3 separate regions of the Homo sapiens genome follow, and regions 2 and 3 are each linked to region 1. Evidence: promoter capture Hi-C in human tissues and cell types (Jung and others, 2019). All regions are on one chromosome and are shown on one strand. Each heading gives the region's core, a stretch centred on a gene start or on the middle of the fragment in contact. The rest is flanking DNA. Distances are from core to core; before and after follow the strand shown.

What was found. Contacts are between HindIII fragments. The study calls those that stand out against the background at their distance.
Region 2: a fragment that was not itself captured here is called in contact with the fragment with the promoter of GLT8D1 in region 1 in 1 of the 25 tissues and cell types used here (hippocampus).
Region 3: a fragment that was not itself captured here is called in contact with the fragment with the promoter of GLT8D1 in region 1 in 1 of the 25 tissues and cell types used here (lymphoblastoid cells).

Annotation. Positions count from the first base shown.
Region 1 is chr3:52,704,521-52,707,239 of GRCh38, reverse strand. It overlaps GLT8D1 (glycosyltransferase 8 domain containing 1), which reads left to right and starts at 1,449. Exons shown (of 10, transcript NM_018446.4): 1 at 1,449-1,793. SPCS1 (signal peptidase complex subunit 1) reads right to left here and starts at 1,134. Exons shown (of 4, transcript NM_014041.5): 1 at 958-1,134; 2 at 537-596; 3 at 361-447. The coding sequence starts at 993. RefSeq lists a silencer at 1,553-1,722. The HindIII fragment of the contact is 20,736 bases long and covers 1-2,719 here.
Region 2 is chr3:53,040,178-53,043,031 of GRCh38, reverse strand. All of the region lies in intron 1 of SFMBT1 (Scm like with four mbt domains 1), which reads left to right. Among named protein-coding and RNA genes, the nearest start is that of SFMBT1, 4.5 kb to the left of the region's middle. The HindIII fragment of the contact is 6,201 bases long and covers 1-2,854 here.
Region 3 is chr3:53,089,859-53,092,696 of GRCh38, reverse strand. It overlaps RFT1 (RFT1 glycolipid translocator homolog), which reads left to right. Exons shown (of 13, transcript NM_052859.4): 12 at 79-328; 13 at 627-2,838. The coding sequence ends at 794. Among named protein-coding and RNA genes, the nearest start is that of RFT1, 39 kb to the left of the region's middle. The HindIII fragment of the contact is 9,550 bases long and covers 1-2,838 here.

The sequences.
Region 1 (2,719 bases), core at 200-2,699:
CGAAATCGCCCCAGTGCACTGCAGCCTGGGCAACAAGAGTGAAACTCCGTCTCAAAAAATTTAAATAAATAAATAAATAAAAGGTGAAGGGACAACGTGAGCACCATGAAAACTCCTGCTGGCTTTGACCTTAAGATTATTAGCCAGAGTAGCCGCCAAAGGAAATAAGCTGTGTCCTTTTATATAGTTCGCACCATCTGACACTATTTTGGCATTCTACTTTTCCAATGATAGCAAAGGGAAACGCTGTTTGGAAGGATGAGGGAAACGTTGGCTTTGGGTCTCACTACTGAGTAGGTCTAACCAAACCAACCCGACTCACAAAACCCAAGCTGCCACTAATACCCACAAATTTCTTACCAAACATGAAAAAGCAAATCCGGCCATAACTATATAGACAGTCCACCCGAACTGTTCAGCCACGTACCCGTAGATAAATCCAACTATCTAGAGACAAATGAAGTATATTAAACACACTCAAACTGAGGGTTGGGAGGGAGGCGGGGGCGGAGATTAAATGTAAAACCAATACTTACTGCAGAAAAAAGAATAATTCCCTGAAACATCTGTTCAGCTAGCTTCTGGCCCTTGTAATCCTGGGGTGAAGCAGAGGAAAAAAAGAATTGGTTCCACCGCCGAGAACATACAATTCCTGCCCTGACCTCACAACTCTGGCACAGGGTAACCCCAACATCAGGGTCTCCCGCTCTCCTAAGGGCCTGGGCAAGATATTAAATTCTGGGCTTCCCGGGAGGAACTGAAACACCCTCACGGAGAATGGACAGGAGATTCTCGCGGAGTAGAAGAGAAGGGGACCCAGGAGGCAATTCGGGAAAGAGGGTGGACGGTAACCATCCGGGCCCGGAACAGCGCAGCACCGGGTCGGTGCTCCAACATGGGCTTCGAAGCTGCCAGGCACAAGAACGGCGTGCAGAGGTCCCCGGGTTGCGCCCTCACCATCTGCGTGGGCAGCGAGCTCAGATGCTCCAGCATGGCTGGCTGAGGAGGCGGGCAGCTGAGCGCGGGTGGCAGGCTGCGAGGCGAGGGCGACCGAGACTTAAGGACCGTGAGGGGTAAGGTCTGGCACTGCGCGTCAGTAGCCGGGCCTTCTAAGCCCGGGAGAGCGATGGCGGCGGCCCCGGAAGCGGAAGTCTCCGACGGGCCGGTACAGCCCGTGTCCCCGCCCCGCGCCATCGCTAGGCGACGTGCGCTTTTGCCGCGCCGTGCTGCCCGCGAGGGCAGCTGAGGTGGTGGTGGCGGCCGCCTTGTCGAGGCATCGCGCGCCCGTGAAGTGTTCGCCGTCAGTGCTGTTGGGTGCCTGGAGCCGCGTCCCCCGTCCCGAAAACTGTCCTTGACAGTACTTGCGCGGCCCAACGGCCGCCGGCGCCCCCGCGTCTCCATGGCGACGGCCTTTTTCCCTGCGAGGACCCCGGCGGCAGGGCTGCCCCGCGGCGCCTGCTTGGCGCGACGCTCTAGCGGTTACCGCTGCGGGCTGGCTGGGCGTAGTGGGGCTGCGCGGCTGCCACGGAGCTAGAGGGCAAGTGTGCTCGGCCCAGCGTGCAGGGAACGCGGGCGGCCAGACAACGGGCTGGGCTCCGGGGCCTGCGGCGCGGGCGCTGAGCTGGCAGGGCGGGTCGGGGCGCGGGCTGCATCCGCATCTCCTCCATCGCCTGCAGTAAGGGCGGCCGCGGCGAGCCTTTGAGGGGAACGACTTGTCGGAGCCCTAACCAGGGGTATCTCTGAGCCTGGTGGGATCCCCGGAGCGTCACATCACTTTCCGATCACTTCAAAGTGTAAGGGGGGCCCTACTGACCCTTGGAATTTAGGGGGGCTACCCTAGGCGGCATCCACAACAGAGAGAATTCCCTTGGAGAGGGGACCCTGGTGCTCGGCTGTCCCTCTCATCCGCGTAGAAAGTCCCTCATCTGGGGGCTCCCGAACTCAGCCCTCTCACATTGTGGCCGGCTTTACTGACCCTCACAGACCCAGGCTGGGCCCTCCCGATAGAGGCCAGCCAAAGGTTCACTCAGCCTCTCTTTCAAGGCTGGTGTATCTCTAAATCTTAGACCCTCCTCCGTTACCGTCAGCCAGGTGGGATGCCCACGTTTTGGAGAGAAACCGTTCTGAGGAACCCGGGCCTCTGGGTCCCAGCTGGCTCTCCGGCCCCCAGGTTATGTATTCTGGGTTGGCCACAAACAGTGGAATTCTAGGCACTCCCGGGACAGGGTGGGACTGCTGTCCTCATTCATGCAACCAGCAAATATTCACGGCACCTTGTTTGTGCCAGACAGCAGACCGAGGACACGGTTGTTACCAAGACCAGGCTGTTGCCTTGGAAGAGCCCAGAGCGTGTCAAGGGAGACAGCCACATCACGCCAGAAATACATGACAGCTGGATTAGCCCTGGGAGAGGGAGGCCCAGATGTGGGAGCTCAGGGGAGGTGCAGCTCAACGTGGAGTTTGGAGGAGGCTACCTTGACCTTTGAATGCCAAGTGGGAGCCAGCCAGATGAAAGGGTAGGAGAAAGTGTTTGTATATCCTCAGTGCCCTTTCATCCTTGCACGTGGCAGAGACCAAACAGTAAAATGCAGACACGTTTGACACTTTTCTGACCTCAGAAGGACTCAGGACGTGTAGAAGGCAGAAAGAGGGATGGGCAAGAGTTTATTCCTGTTTCCTTCTCATGCTCTGTATTTCTTGGTGTGTTTGAAGAGACTTT
Region 2 (2,854 bases), core at 204-2,703, 340 kb before region 1:
GGGATCCATGGGGAATAGTCCACAAAGTTAAAAGGTTTTCTTTTGTGAAATGATTTCGCTGAATAATTCTGTCTTTCCCGTGTTAAGCTAGCCAGCCAACTGACTGACCAGCAACTAAGCTGGATTTGGTCACTCCACCCAAGATTCACAGCCTCATTAGCCAAGAGAGTAATTGATGACTTAGCTATTATTGATACATTGTTTCTTTTTGTGGCTCTTTTTAAATTTCTTGACTTTTATGTGATCAGATTGTTTAATTTAAAATCTATTACATTTTTAAGAGAAGCAACTAAAGAGATACACGAGAAACAAAATACACAATGAAAGGGAATTTCCTTTTTTTGCTGTTTTGTTGTAAACTCAGATTTTTCCTTTTAAAAATGATTGCTGGCTAGGCACAGTGGCTCACGCCTATAATCCCAGCACTTTGGGAGGCTAGGCAAGAGGATCGCTTGAGACCAGGAGTTCGAGGCCAGCCTGGATGAAAGAAAAGGGAGACCCTGTGTCTCCAAAAAAATAAAAAAATTAGCCAGGCGCGGTGGTGGGCACCTATAGTCCCAGCTCTTCAGGAGGCTGAGGTGGGAGGATCCTTTGAGCCCAGGAGTTCGAGGCTGCAGTGAGCTATGATTGCACTGCTGCACTCCAGCCTGGGTAACAGAGTGACACTGTCTCAAAAAACAAACCAACCAACCCAGTATGATTTGCCTATCCATAATCTTCCTGCTTCTGTAGTATACTTTTGCTTTCACAGTGATACCTAGACTGGGTTTAGCTGTGGAATGGTGGTGTAGCAGCAGGTATCATTTAACTCTAAAGTCTGTAGAAAAGATGAACTATACAAACTTCATTGGCTTTTTATTTTGGCGTCATGTTATGTTCACATTAAGTAAATAGATACAGTCCAAAAACCAAAAGGCCATTATTTAGGCAGACATTTTACATCTTTAATATTTTTAATGTTACATTTTTTCTCTTATAATTTTCCAAAATTTTGCTTTCTTGGATTATTTGGCTTATAACCAATATTTTGGAATAACATAAAATAAAAGAACTTGTAATGAGTAAATGATACAACTTCCTTATGGCAGAGTATTTTTCTTTTAGTATATAGCATTCGTTACCTAACTGGGATATTTTGTATTTGAAAATAATATTTCTGTATATACATAGTTATTAAATGGGATAAAAGTGTGTGGGGATTTTGGTTACTTGCGAGATTTTAAACCATTAGAGTTTGGGGAGTGGGATTTTGATAGGAGTCTCCCATTCTTCAGGGGATACTAACCTCATTGGAAAAGAATTTTTTTTTTTTTTTTTTTTTTTTTTTTTTTTTGAGACAGACTTTTACTCTTGTTGCCCAGGCTGGAGTGCAATGGCACGATCATGGCTCACTGCAACCTCTGCCTCCTGGGTTCAAGCAATTCTCCTGCCTCAGCCTCCCAAGTAGCTGGGATTATGGGCATGCACCACCATTCCTGGCTAATTTTGGTATTTTTAGTAAAGATGGGGTTTCACCATGTTGGTCAGGCTAGTCTTGAACTCCTGATCTCAGGTGATCCACCCTCCTTGGCCTCCCAAAGTGCTGGGATTACAGGCATGAGCCCCCGCGCCTCGCGGAAAATGATTTAAAATAGAAAGAATGTGGTCAGGTTGTTGCAGATTCATGTTTAAACTTTTCAAAAGGGGGAGGAAGGATAAGAACACTGACACATTATTAATAGAAAAATCATATGACTTCACTGCATAAGTCTTAATGATTTGATTGTAAACCTTTTCCTCTAACTCAGAGACACCTGAAAACGTGTATGTAATTATTCTTTCTTTTATTCAAGAGGATGTTTATAACCTTATTTAGTTCTCTTTTGTCTTCAGGCAGTCACTCAAGGAATTTATTTAAAAACAAAAAATAGGCCGGGCGCAGTGACTTACACCTGTAATCCCAGCATTTTGGGAGACCAAGGCAGGCAGATCTCTGGAGTCCAGGAGTTTGATACCAGCCTGGACAACATAGGGAAGCCCTGTCTCTACAAAAAAAAAAAAAAAAAAAAAAAAAAAAAAAAAAATTCAGGTGTCTTGGTGCATGCCTGTAGTCTCAGCTACTCGGGAGGCTGAGGCAGGTATATCTCTTGAGCCAGGGAGACAGACGTTGCAGTGGGCTGTGATCACACCCCTTCAGCCTGGTGACATAGCGAGACCCTGTCTCAAAAAAATAAATAAAAACAAAAAAAAAAGTAGTCTGTATATTGTGTGTTAAATGATGTGTTAAGTACCTGTTGAACTCTGTGGTTTGAACAGTTGAGTAACTTCAGTGAGCCAAGCATGTCACTATGCAGAGAGAGGCTATAAGGTGATATTTCCAACATGATGCACAGTACTGTGTGCATTGGGTCTTTTTTTTTTTTTTTAACTGGCATACTGGTCTGGTGCATTGGTTCTTTTTTGATGTTTTTGCTTAGTCTAGAGAAAGGTTAATTATTAAACTGATGTGGGGCAGATAGGGTTGTTAAGTGTCAGTATCTGTTTATCTGGGAAACTTGGGTTCTGTCTGAGATGGTATTTGGAGAGGATCTTAGATGAGAGTTGGAAGGTGGTTTGTTGGCAGTTGAAAGTGTGGGACAGTCACACATTTGGAATGACAACATGAGCTGGGATGAGAAATTTAGCAATTACTAAAATGCCTCAGGAGTTTTTCTTGCTGATATTCAATTTAAAGTGTTAGCCAACAAGTACTCAGATTTGAATTCCAAATTATTATTTTTTATACCCTGAAGAGTTTTTAAAAAAGCATTTGAGGTGGCTACTATGGAATATTTGCTCAGTAGTAAGGCTGCCCATGGGCTGCCACTGGTTCTTC
Region 3 (2,838 bases), core at 1-2,500, 390 kb before region 1:
GTTCATGGCCGCTGTTTTGGGAGCAGCCTTGTCCAGGGCAAGGTCACCACTGCCCTCCTTTTCCTGTCTCCTCCCCAGGTACAATTTTGTGATGCTGGCCCTGTCCTCCTCATTCCTGGTGTTATCCTATCTCTTGACCCGTTGGTGTGGCAGCGTGGGCTTCATCTTGGCCAACTGCTTTAACATGGGCATTCGGATCACGCAGAGCCTTTGCTTCATCCACCGCTACTACCGAAGGAGCCCCCACAGGCCCCTGGCTGGCCTGCACCTATCGCCAGTCCTGCTCGGGACATTTGCCCTCAGTGGTGGGGTTACTGCTGTTTCGGAGGTGAGACTCCCTGAGCCATCATGCCACATGCTTCTGCAGCTGCCCCGCTGTCTCTCCCGCTAGGCCTCCTCTTCCCAGGTTTTTGCCTCCTCCTGTCCCCTCCCCAGGCCTCTAGGGCAGCATCTTCTGATAATGTGACAAGAGAATGTTGCCAATGGGGAAACAATGGACCTGCAGTATGGCTGTTATGCCTTTTATCTGACTTAGAAGCTGGAACCACAGCTGTCTTCCCTGGCTGGTCCCAGAGGAAGGAGGTATAGACTGAGGAACAGGCACTGACAATGGTTTCTTTCCCCAGGTATTCCTCTGCTGTGAGCAGGGCTGGCCAGCCAGACTGGCACACATTGCTGTGGGGGCCTTCTGTCTGGGAGCAACTCTCGGGACAGCATTCCTCACAGAGACCAAGCTGATCCATTTCCTCAGGACTCAGTTAGGTGTGCCCAGACGCACTGACAAAATGACATGACTTCAGGGAAGCCTGGACACCCGAGGCACCTGGACCAGCTATGGGTAGTTCTGTGGGTGGAACACATTCTGTGTAAGAGCCCCACTGAGGGCTCTGCAGCGGAGTGACAGCAACCCCAGAGATGAGGCACCAGAGAGTGCCACTGCATGAGACACCTGTGACCATTCGAAGTCTGAAATGCGGGGGGGGAGTTTCATTTTTAAGTGAAGACCAAAAGCCCTTTAAAAATAATAGTTTTTTATCATTTTATAGTAATCAGCATTTTCTCTTTTACTAATATACTCATTCCTTTTGCGTATGATTGGCCTTTGGAGCTACATGCTCCAACAAACTATATCTTAATTGTTAACTGTTAATAATTATCTGGCCCAGAAAAAGAGATGCAGTGATTTTACCCTTCACAGGAATATTGAACTTCTTCTGTAAAAGAGAGAGAGAAACCTCTCTCTCTCATGCACCACATGGAAACAGAGTGTGGCCCTGAAGTTGTGGCTTTCTTTGTGTCAAAACTGTGGTCTGAGTTTTTAGAGAAGGAAAAATGCTACTCAGTGAGAAATCCAAGAAATGAAACCAGGAAGGTTTTCAGATCACATTTCCCAGAGTGAGTTCGGGAGAATCTTGCCTGTCGTGATCACACTGTTCCCCGCCGCCCCAGGTCAGCACATACTTGACCCAGAGTGGGCTCTCAGGATTTGTTGATTGAAGGGTGGGTGAAAGCTGGCTGGAGACTCCTGGCCTGGCCACCTGCAAGAGGCGGACTTTGAAGAAAACTGTGATCCAGTTGAGCCACTTTGTCCCTGAGGGGAATGCTGCTTTGCAGCTTTCTGTAACTTCTCACATGGGAATTGCACTGGTGACAGATAAGGTTTAACAGATGTACTTTTTTATCCTCAGAATAAGACAAGGCAAACTCTATATGGCTAGTATTACTGAGTCAGGTCCCTCCCGTTGACCCATTAATTCCAGCATTGATCAATACAACCAAATTCCAGCCCCAGGACAAGAGTGGCAGGCATGGGGGCCTGGTACTCCAGGCTACAGTGTGAGCCCAGGTGTTCTGCACCTTGCAGCCTGCACACTGCAGGTGAAATCATGAGCAGTGTTCTGGAGTGTGAAGTGTTTTTATTTTTTTGTTAATGTATTAATTCCTTTTAGATATTAACCCCCCTCAGAACTATATGCACAAACTATAACTTGGATGTTAATAATCCTGTCACTCAGTGCCCCAAACCTTCTGTGTCTACACCTAGAGAGAGGGCCAGTAAGGGCAACTCCTATCATGCATTAAAATGCATGTATTTAAATCTGCTTGCCCAGAGCCAGTACCCAGGGGCTAAGGATTAAGACCTGTCAGTACACCAAGACTGGGGCCCAGTCACCTGGCAGGTTTTTATCTACTCAGAGGGAGAATGCTTTGCACTAAGTGGGAGAAAAGCAGCTAAATGCAAGGTGTCCTGAGCAATTAGAGGACCTCCAAAGCATGGCCTCAGTCATGCCTTCATCGGGCAAGGTCAGGCCAGCTCAGAAAAATGGATGGTCCCATAGGGTCAAGTGGAGCACACACGGAAGGCAGTCCTCCTTCCCTCCCATGTCCTTTCTCTGTCCCTGGCATCCACAGAAAGGGACCTTCAGTCCTCATGAGCTGCTTCTCTGCAGCTGCTGATCACCCTCCCGGAACCCTGCACCTATCCCGTGCCCACCTGACCCCAGACTCAAGCATGATCCTCATTCTACCTGCCTCGGAATCACCTGGATTGCAAGTCAGAACATGGCTTCCCAGGACCCACTCCAGGCCTTCAGGGTCTGTGTCTCCCAGGAGGAGGGCTCTGAGATTGGCTTTTCTGGCAAGCCCACGTGGCTTTGATGCCACCAAGGTTGGCATGCCCCATTGTCTTCCTTCGTGACAGGCCCAGGACCATCATGCTCATGCTCACAGTGCCTGTTCTCTGCTCCAGGAACAGAGCTGCTGCTCTACAAGCAGCCTTGTGACTCCGGGGTCTCTGGGAGCAGGACTCCCCAGGCTTGTGCTCTCTCAGCTTGAGAG